Linked DNA regions of Homo sapiens: region 2 is linked to region 1. Evidence: promoter capture Hi-C in human tissues and cell types (Jung and others, 2019). All regions are on one chromosome and are shown on one strand. The core of a region is centred on a gene start or on the middle of the fragment in contact, and the rest is flanking DNA. Distances in the headings are between cores, read along the strand shown. Region 1 overlaps CNPY2 (canopy FGF signaling regulator 2). Region 2 holds the start of ERBB3 (erb-b2 receptor tyrosine kinase 3).

Region 1 (5,332 bases), core at 907-3,406:
CTAATTAAAATCAATTAGGGAAAGCTTTTTAGAATAGGTTGTTGGAGCTAGATTTGGAAAGAAAAGTAAGGATATAAATTACTAATGTACAGAGGTAGAAGAGAGTGACCCAAGGCTGAGGACATTTCTAGGTGCCTTATGCCCGCTCAGAGGCCCACCTCACAGAGCTGCTGGAGGAGATATGTGACCGGATGAAGGAGTATGGGGAACAGATTGATCCTTCCACCCATCGCAAGAACTACGTACGTGTAGTGGGCCGGAATGGAGAATCCAGTGAACTGGACCTACAAGGCATCCGAATCGACTCAGATATTAGCGGCACCCTCAAGTTTGCGGTGAGCTATGGGAATCGGTAGCTGGTTCTTGGACATTAAGGGGTTGTTGGAGAACCAATTAGAAAGTTAGGCTGATATCCTTGTCCTCCTCTTTGGAAGTGAAGGCAAGAGGCCTCTTATTGCCCTGTGTCACCCATTTCTCCCTTGGGTTGGCAGTGTGAGAGCATTGTGGAGGAATACGAGGATGAACTCATTGAATTCTTTTCCCGAGAGGCTGACAATGTTAAAGACAAACTTTGCAGTAAGCGAACAGGTAAGCTGCCCCCACTTTATCTCCTGTTCTAGTAGCTCTGTGGAACCTGACATTCCCTAACTCACCCATACACCCCCATCCCAGAAACCTCTGGTATTAGGTCAAGAGCTGTCTTCCATTTCCCTTGGCTTAGGGACTTGGGGTGTTCCTCCACATTTTCTGTCAGCTTTCAGAATTTGTGTCCCCTTGACCCTGAGATACAGGTGAGAGGACAGTGGGGATGTTTTATCATTTATAAGCATATATTCTGCAGAATGGTGGTTGGTGTGTGTTTGTGTCAGCTTGGTCTGGGAAATTTTCTTGATACTGGCAGATATCAGTATGAGAATGGCATATTCCTTTAAATTGTTTGCCATTTGCAGATCTTTGTGACCATGCCCTGCACATATCGCATGATGAGCTATGAACCACTGGAGCAGCCCACACTGGCTTGATGGATCACCCCCAGGAGGGGAAAATGGTGGCAATGCCTTTTATATATTATGTTTTTACTGAAATTAACTGAAAAAATATGAAACCAAAAGTACAAACTGTGTTGTCTTTTCATGCCTGGAATTGCCCTTACATTAAGCTTGAAGATAAGGAGTTATATAGACAGGAAAGATAATGGAGGAGAAAGAAGAGTTTTGGGATTGATACAGGATAAAGGTAGGAGAGGCCTGAACCTTTAATTCTTCTACCTTCTGAGATTCCACTCCACTCATAAACTAGATAAGCTTTCAGTCAGTGCCCACTCAATACCACGTCTTTAGAGTCTAATTGTGGAGAATAGAGGAACCTCCATGAGGAAGCAGGGGAACATAGTGTATGGTAGTGTAGAATTCTAGAAATCCCTTGTGTTCATGGCTGTTGAAACATAAAGTAAGACAGGGCTTGGTCTTGAAGGAAATAACGGATATGCATTATTCTTCCTTCCCTGCCCATCCAGATGGAGGGACCAGCAAGAACAGAGACAGGAAGGGGAAAATGGATGTGACCAACTCAGCTGAAAAGTAAGGGCTTTATCGGATAGGGACAGACGAGGTAAGGAAGGTTGTTTAATGAGAGGCCTTGCTTGCCAGCCTAAGCTTTTAAATTTGATGCCAGTGGCAACAATAAAGTGTATCTATCACTAGCCATTGTCAATCTGGACTATAAGTCTGTCCACAATTCTGTGTGTAGAGATTCCAGACTGGGGCATAGGGATGAAAACCTAAAGGATACCTTCTTTTGGGAAATTCTTTTTTTCTTTTTTTTTCTGAGATGGAGTCCCGCTCTGTCGCCTAGGCTGGAGTACAGTGGCGCGATCTCGGCTCACTACAAGCTCTGCCTCCCAGGTTCACGCCATTATCCTGACTCAGCCTCCCGAGTAGCTGGGACTACAGGCGCCCGCCACCACACCGGCTAATTTTTTTTTTTTTTTTTTTGTGAGACAGAGTCTCGCTCTATCGCCCAGGCTGGAGTACAGTGGCGCGATCTCGGCTTACTGCAAGCTTCGCCTCCCGGGTTCACACCATTCTCCTGCCTCAGCCTCCCAAGTAGCTGGGACTATAGGCACCCGCCACCACGCCCGGCTAATTTTTTGTATTTTTAGTAGAGACGGGGTTTCACCATGTTAGCCAGGATGGTCTCGATCTCCTGACTTCGTGATCCGCCCGCCTTGGCCTCCCAAACTGCTGGGATTACAGGCGTGAGCCACCGCGCCCGGCCTGCACTGGCTAATTTTTTTGTATTTTTAGTAGAGGCAGGGTTTCACCGTGTTAGCCAGGATGGTCTCGATCTCCTGACCTCATGATCCGCCCGCCTTGGCCTCCCCAAATGCTGGGATTACTGGTGTGAGCCACCGCACCTGGCAGAAAATTCTTAAGCACTCTGAGCTTGAGGTATGGTTGTCTCAGGGTTTCAAATGGAATATCTCCGGTCCCAAGAACACCTCAAGGAGAGAAGACCTGAATAAACATTTCAAAGGTTTTAAAAATTACATCATTTTAGAATCTAAAGGAACCTTAGAGGTCGTCTGGTTCACCTCTGCCCATTTTATTGATGAAGAAGCTGAGGCCCAGAGAAGCCATAGAACTTTATGAAGTTCTGTATTTAATGGCAAAACTGGGTCTATAAGCTAACTTTCCCAAGTGCTGACCTGATCTAATATAGCTATAGAGTACCTTCTATTTTAAGTCTTTTTTCTCTAATAATACCTTGCACTAAGCCTGGCGCATAGAATGCATATATTCCACAAAGCTTTCTTGTACCAAAAATCCCTGTGAAATCTGACAAATTAACTAGAGCACAGAGCAAGCACTCTGATATTTGTTGTCAACTAATATCAGCCTGGTGTTAATTCCATCTTCTCCCATCATCCATAAGAAATGCTGTGTTCGCTCTAGTTTTCCAAACCAACTATTATAAAGCTTATTTTTTCTTCTATGATGCATATAAGTAATAATTACATTTTTTCATGTCCCTGAAAGTATACCCAAGGTGCTGTCCATTTCGTGCTTCGTGCCTAAAAATGCCTTTCTTTTCCATCAGAAAGCTTATCAGAAGTATAAATGAGAGTACTCTTCAAGCCAAATGCGGTGGCTCGTGCCCATAATCCCAACACTTTGGGAGGCCAAGGTGGAAGGATCATGATCACTCGAGTCCAGGAGTTTGAGACCAGCCTAGGCAATATAGTGAGACCCCATTGCTACAAAAAATACAAAAATTAGCCGGCATAATGGTGTGCACCTGTGGTTCCAGCGACTCTGGAGGCCAAGGTGGCAAGATCTCTCGAACCCAGGAGGCTGAGGCTGCACTGAGCTGTGATTGCACTACTGCACTCTAGCCTAGGCAACAGAGTGAGACCCTGTCTCAAATACAATAAAGAGAGTTCTCTTCTGGAAACTTAAAACTGTTTTAATTTAGAAAACAAATTATTCATAGTTTTAAATAAATAAATTTAATGTTAATCAGTAACAAGTTACTTGTGATGCACCTTTCTGGTTTGTCAAAGTACAGCTGTTAAGAACTCTCCAGCTGGAGAGACTTTGTCATTGGTACACAAAGGATATGTCCTATATAGGAAAGGGTGGATGTTACCTTCTAGGCTTGATTAAGGATACACTTTGTGGGGTTTTTTTGTTTTTTGTTTTTTTTTTCCTGAGGGAGAGTCTCGCTCTGTCGCCCAGGCTGAAGTGCAGTGGTGCAATCTCGGCTTACTGCAACCTCCACCTCCTGGTTCAAGTGATTTTCCTGACTCAGCCTCCCAAGTAGCTGGGATTACAAGCATGTGCCATCATGCCCAGCTAATTTTTGAGTTTTTTGTAGAGACAGTGTTTCACCATGTTGGCCAGGCTGGTCTCAAACTCCTGGCTTCAAGTAACCCGCCTGCCTCAGCCTCCCAAAGTGTTGGGATTACAGGCGTGAGCCACCGTGCCCAGCAGGAAGATACACTTTGTAAACCTCTTATTTTTTTTATTATTATCATTATTATTATTACTATCTTAGCGAGACAGGGGTCTTGCTCTGTTGCCCAGGCTGGAGTGAAATGGCATGATCATAACTCATTGCAGCCTCTAACTCCTGGCTTCAAGCAATCCTCCTGCCTTGGCCTCCTGAGTTTCTAGGATTACAGGCAAGCACCACCATGCCTGGCTTTGCACATGTTTTAATTCATATCACAAGGAATGCATGAATTTATCTGAACCCTCTGGAGGTTCATTATAATAAATTATAGCCCAGTATTTGGTAGAGCATATGCTCTTAACCTTGTAAATCTGATCAAGCTTCAGATGCCTTCTAACTTAGTTTATCAGTAAAATGTTAGAACTTAACAAACATTTCCGAAGACAGTGTTAAATGAGGTACAGATATAACAGGAAAGTTTATTATGTGAAAATTTAGTCCTTTAGAAATACGTTTTAGGGCTGGGCCCAGTGGATCATGCCTGTAATCCCAGCACTTGGGGATGCCGAGGTGGACAGATCAATTGAGGCCAGGAGTTCGAGACCAAGCCTGGGCAACATGCCAAAAACCCATCTCTACCAAAAATACAAAAATTAGCCAGGTGTAGTGGCATGCGCCTATAATCCCAGCTACTAGGGAGGCAGAGGTTACAGTGAAGATTGCGCCACTGCACTTCAGCCTGGGCAATAAAGTGCGACTCAAAAAAAGGTTTAGTCCAGATGCAGTGGCTCACACCTATAATCCCAACACTTTGGGAGGCTGAGGCAGGAGGATCTTTTGAGCCCAGGAGTTTGAGACCACCCTGGACAACATAGCAGGACCCTGTCTATGCAAAAAAATTAGCTGGGTATAGTGGCAGGCATCTGTAGTCCTAGCTACTCAGTAGGCTAAGGTGGGAGGACTGCTTGAGCCAGGGAGATCGAGATTGCAGTGAGTCATGATCTCGCCACTGCACTCCAGCCTGGGCAACAGAGCAAGACCCTGTCTCAAAAAAAAAAAAAAAAAAAGTGAAGTGGCATGATCTCGACTCACTGCAACCTCCACCTCCCAGGTTCAAGTGATTCTCCTGCCTCAGCCTCCCAAGTAGCTGGGACTACAGGTGCCTGCCACCATGCCCGGCTAATTTTTGTATTTTTAATAGAGGTGGGGTTTCACCATGTTGGCCAGACTGGTCTTGAACTCCTGATCTGAAATGATCCACCCACTTTGGCCTCCCGAAGTGCTGGGATTACAGGCATGAGCCACTGCCTGGCCGAAAAAAAAAAAAAAAAAACTTTTATAGGATTTTTTAACTTAAAAAGCATTCATAGGTACAATA
Region 2 (5,332 bases), core at 1,353-3,852, 230 kb after region 1:
TCAGCCTTGGGAGTTCACTCTTCTTTGCAAATGTGGTGGACAACGGGCTATGGGAAGTCCTGGACTCTGAAGCCCTACCCCAGTCTCTTTCCTCTGGTTCAGGGAAAGACCATGTGTGGGGTGGGGAGTAGGGGGTAGATACCACCTGTTCCAGCCACCCTTCCCTGAGGCGGTGGTAGCTCAGTGGGAGGCAACAGTGGGAATGGAGGGAGGGAGACTGGTGAGGCCCCAATCCCTCCTATAACATACACCCCTAGTCTGACTTCTTGACCTTGGAGGGCTCCTTATCACTCCCCATGAAGGTTGGCTAGTCCCAGCAAAGAGAGCTAGTTCCAGAGGAGCTGGGAACTCCAGGGTCCTTGGGTTGAAATGAAAGAGACTAGGAAGGTTAGTCATTTCTGGAACAGCCCCACCCCAATCCCCTTCCTGGCAGGATACCCCCTTTCCCAAGTTATAGTGCCAACACTTCTCCCCAGATAAGGGAGGAGCCAAGCTTTCTGCACAGGGAAGTAGTAGTGTGGGCACACACATACACACACAATGTACACACGAACACGTACACATTGGTCCTGCTGGCTCAGGAATCTATAGTTGGGTTTCCTTGCAGGAAGTATTTCAGGTGGCCCCATCTATCCCACGTGCCCATAAGTGTTTGTGCAGACTTTGTGTCTGTGCTTGGAAGGCTACAGTGTTAGAGGTAGCCCAGTTCCCTGCTACCCTGAGGGTAAAGTCCATATTACACAAACAGGGGGCAAAGGGCCTGGGCAGGAAGGGAGCACAAACAACACCTCTGGGGAGGAGCTAGGCAGCTTGGGGAGCAGGGCAGGGGAAGGGAATCATAAAAATCCCTGCTGTACCCAGGAACCGGGAGCATAGGGAGGGGCAGTGTCACAGGCCCTCCTTTGGTAGAGAGCACTAGGGGTGGGATAGAGCCAGAATCTCCAGCCCCTCCTCAACCAGAGGCCTCCCCTCCAACATCCCCCACCCCCATCACAGCCAGGACAAAGGGGCTATAGAAGGACTGAGACAGGGCCGGATGCCCAGAGGCTGCAGGACCCAGATAAAGGGTAAAGAGACCCAACCATGCCTGCCTCCTGCCTCCCCAGGGAGGGTGGCCAGACTCTGGTACTCCTGGGTTTCTGGGTGAAGATTGCAGGAGTCTGGATGGGACAGTTATACAGTCACTCCACTGCTCCCTCCCACGCCAGTCCCCAGACCACCCCCCTCCACCAGCTGGGAGTGTTCACATCTAAAAATCCCAGGATCTAAATTTAGGCCCAGCAACTGTGAGGGAAGCACAGGTGGTTTCTTCCACTCCCACACTGGGGAAGGGGCCCTGGCTGTGCCAAACCCCAAGCTGAGATCTGAGGGGAGGGGAGGAGATCCACAGAACTTCAGTCCTCAGGTGTCCACGGTCCCAGAGACACCCCAAAGGGGTGGGCTCAGATAGCATGGGAGTCGGGGGAGGACTGGAGAAGAGCAATCCGGGGCTCTGTCTAGGGTCCTAGAGACAGTGTCAGACAATAAGCAAAATGGGGGCGGGAGGCACAAGCTGAGCCCAGGAAGGACTCCCCAAGGCAGGAGGCTTAGAAAGTAGCAGAGGTGCCCTCTTGATCCTCAGGTTGGGGAGAGAAAAGACCAGAGGCTGGACATCCTTGCCCTTACAGCTCCTGGCCCAGGGCCTTGTGTATAGTAGATGCTCAATAAATATGAGTTGTGTTGACCTGGGTCTTGACAAAGAGATGTTGCTTAAGCTCTGCTATACTGAGGAAAGGGGGCGCCAGCCTCTGTTGGGCCTCCTGCCTGATGTCACCTGAACTTGGCCCTCTGGTTAATCTCAGACCTCCCCAGGGCAGGCTCACTCACGGAAGAGGAGGTGCCGCTCCTGTTTTTCCAACACCAGAGAACAACAACCCCCTCCAACCTTCTGTAGCTCCGCCCTGTCGGCAAAACAACGAAACTAGGGGTAGCTGAAATCGGCGCGGGTGGGGGGCAGGGGGTTGGCGAGCAAACCGAGACCCTTCCCGCCAAGGCCCCCACCTCCAAGCACCTCCTGTTTACAGAATGAAGTTCCCTGCTCCCCTCCCTGCAGGGCCCCTCAGAAGTGTGAACTACTGTTTCGGCCTCAGCCTCTTCTGGGGAGACCAATTAGAGGGTCGGCGACGCTCTGGAGAAGGGTGGCGTGAGGGTCCCGGAATGCCGCCCTCGGCCGGACCACGCCGATAACCCGAGCCTGACCGCCCCTCTCCCAGGTGGTCCTGGCAAACCGGGGGCAGCACCCACAACCCCGCGCCGCCTGAGACCGTGCCCATACCCTCCGAGGCTGCGCGCACTGGGTTCCGGCTCCCAGGTGCCGAGCCCGCCGGTGCTCTCGCGCCACTTACCTGCCTGAGAGTTGCCCACCTCGGAGCCCCGGGCCAGGCTGAAAAGCAAGCCCAGCACCTGCAGAGCGTCGTTCGCCCTCATGACTCCGCAGAGGGTGAAGGGAGCCCAGCCAAGTCCGGCCCGGGGGCCCCTAGGCTAGGACATCGAGGCAAGAGCCACCTGAACCGCTGGCGAATTGGTGGCTGCTGCGGCGACGGCAGCGGAGGTTGCAAATTGCAATCGGAGCCGGAGCCGGAGTCCGGGGAGGGATGGCAGGGGAGGGGTGTGTGTGTGTGAGAGAGAGAGAGAGAGGGAGGGAGGAACGCAGAGGGAAGGGGGTGAGTCACGGCCGCGCCCCCTCCCGCGCGAGGCTGGAGTAGGGATTGCGGAGCCTCGGACCGCCTGCCCCGAGCGTGCCACGCCCCGCGGTCCCGCAACTTGGCGGAGCAGATCGAGGATGGGGCTCACCCTAATTTTTCTGCAGGAGATAGGCCAAGGGGAGGTCGAGATTCCGAAAGCCCCCAGATCCAGGGAAGGGTAATGAATGAGGGAGTGGAAAGCTCTCCAAAGCCCTGCCCCCTGAAAGTTGGCCTCGCCCATTAACCAAATCACTCAACTCCCCTAGCCGGTTGGTTCACTTGGTGGATTTTCTCTCAGAATGTGAATATTTCTCTCTGTGTGTTTTTGAGGGGGAGGGTGTTTTTTGCCTCACGTCCAGGCCACCTCAGTTTCTCCCAGACTCGAAACCCCATAATTCATCCACCCAGCCCAGGAACCCGAGCCACAGAGACCGCGTGAAATTGCACTGTCTCTGGCCGCTTCCTCCTCCAGACCCGGCGCCGGCCGGGCCTCTCCCGGGGATTTGGATGGGGGGCGGGGGTGGTTTCCAGCCTGGGAACAGACCCCGGAGCCCGCCTTTCCACTTCTACCCCGGGAGGGGCTCCCGCACCTGTCGCCGTCCCCTCTGCTGCCCCCCACGGCCGCCTGGGAGAACAGCTGCCTCCCCTTCCACACTGGAGTCTGGCCGCACCGTCCGGGCGGCCGCAGTTCCCGCCGCTCTTCTGGGGACCCAGATGGGCACACACCAAGGCGCTTACACCCTCCCAGGTGCCTTCCAAGTCCAGGCTCTCGCAGGAAAGGGGATGGGGCAGTGAAGTGGGACGCGGAGAGGACACTAGAGACTGCGTCCACGAATGGCGTGGACCTCTGGAACCTCCCCCACCAGCTGCCCGGACCTGGCCAGAGGCGGTCGGGCTCCCTGCGGGTTGCTGCCCAAAGCCCTGCTAGTCCCGGGACGGATCCGACCGGCGCCGCCTGGTGCCCATCCGTGGCAGTGGAGTCCCAGACGGCCTTGCATTTCAAATCCCTTAAACTGGTATTCGGGATCTCGCCCGGAGAGCCTAGTTGTTTTCTCCAGAACTTCAAGCCTGAAGACTTCGAAAACAGTTGAGCCTTGATAAAGAAAAATTTCACCCCTCACACCTAGCAAAGACTACCGGCTAACATTCCTTAAACATGCTCCCTATTGATATGCAACCTAGAGGGCCTGTTCTCTACTGGAGAATCTCCGCTTTGGGGAGGTTGGCTTTCTCCAGACCATGTGTATAGTAGTCATAATAATAATAGCAACAACAAAACCATTAACATATACAAACATTTCCATATATCATTTCATTTACAAAGTATGTCCTCAAACTTAGTGCCTTAGAGAATGTGTCACTTAACATAAAAATTATATGATTTAGGCAATATAACTCCCCATTTTACAGAACTAGAAGTGTGTGACCTCTCCAAGGTCATCCACCTGGTGACAGTGGTTGAGGTGATCAGGTGATTGGGAGGTGGGGCTCAGACTTTTACCTAGGGTTTCTTTCTCTCTTTTTTTTTCTTTTCTTTTTTTTTTTTTTTGAGACAGAGTTTCGCTCTTGTTGCCCAAGCTGGAATGATCCACCTGCTTCAGCCTGCCAAAGTGCTGGGATATCTTCCATCTTAAAAAACAAAACATTCGGCTGGGCGCGGTGGCTCATGCCTGTAATCCCAGCACTTTGGGAGGCCGAGGCGGGCAGATCACTTGAGGTCAGGAGTTCGAGACCAGCCTAGTCAACATAGTGAAACACCGTCTCTACTAAAAATACAAAAATTAGCTGGGCATGATGGTGGGCACCTGTAATCCCAGCTACTTAGGAGACTGAGGCAGGAGAATCGCTTGAACCCGGGAGGTGGAGGTTGCAGTGAGCTGAGATTGCATCACTGCACTCCAGCTTGGGCGACAGAGTGAGACGCCATCTCAAAACAAAAACAAAACATTGTTTTGTTTGACCTCATGGCCTTCTGGTCTGTTGCTTTTTTTTTTTTGACACGGAATCTTGTTCTGTTTCTGTCACCCAGGCTGGAGTGCAGTGGCCTGATCTCAGCTCACTACTGAGTTCAAGTGATTCTCCTGCCTCAGGCTTCCAAGTAGCTGGGGCTACAAGGCGTGCGCCACCAAGCCCGGCTAATTTTTTGTATTTTTAGTAGAGATGGGGTTTCACTGTGATGGCCAGACTAGTCTCTAATTCCTGACCTCAGGTGATCCACCCACCTCAGCCTCCCAAAGTGCTGGGATTACAGGTGTGAGCCACCACACCTGGCTTTTTTTCCTTTTTTTGAGACAGGATCTCCCTCTGTCACCCAGGCTGGAGTGCAGTGGTGCAATCATGGCTCACAGCAGCCTCAACTTCCCAGGCTCAGGTGATTCTCCCACTTCAGCCTCCCTAGTAACTGAGTCTACAGGTGGGCACCAAAATGTCTGGCTACTTTGTTTATTTGTTTGTTTGTTTTTGAGATGGAGTCTCGCTCTGTCACCCAGGCTGGAGTGCAATGGCGTGATCTCAGCTCACTGCAACCTCTGCCTCCTGGGTTCAAGGCATTCTCCTGAGTTTCGCTTTTGGTGCCCAGGCTGGAGTGCAATGGCTCGATCTTGGCTCAC

The links. The method cuts DNA at HindIII sites, captures the fragments that hold promoters and counts their contacts. A contact is called where the count stands out against the background at its distance.
Region 2: a contact is called between the fragment with the promoter of ERBB3 here and a fragment that was not itself captured in region 1, in 2 of the 25 tissues and cell types used here (dorsolateral prefrontal cortex and heart right ventricle).

What each region holds. Positions count from the first base shown.
Region 1 is chr12:56,306,214-56,311,545 of GRCh38, reverse strand. It overlaps CNPY2 (canopy FGF signaling regulator 2), which reads left to right. Exons shown (of 6, transcript NM_014255.7): 4 at 132-335; 5 at 492-588; 6 at 951-1,702. The coding sequence ends at 994. CNPY2-AS1 (CNPY2 antisense RNA 1) reads right to left here and starts at 132. Exons shown (of 2, transcript XR_002957416.2): 1 at 1-132. The HindIII fragment of the contact is 3,127 bases long and covers 593-3,719 here.
Region 2 is chr12:56,077,435-56,082,766 of GRCh38, reverse strand. It overlaps ERBB3 (erb-b2 receptor tyrosine kinase 3), which reads right to left and starts at 2,602. Exons shown (of 28, transcript NM_001982.4): 1 at 2,385-2,602. The coding sequence starts at 2,466. RefSeq lists enhancers at 1,955-2,945, 4,770-4,819. The HindIII fragment of the contact is 14,559 bases long and covers 1-5,332 here.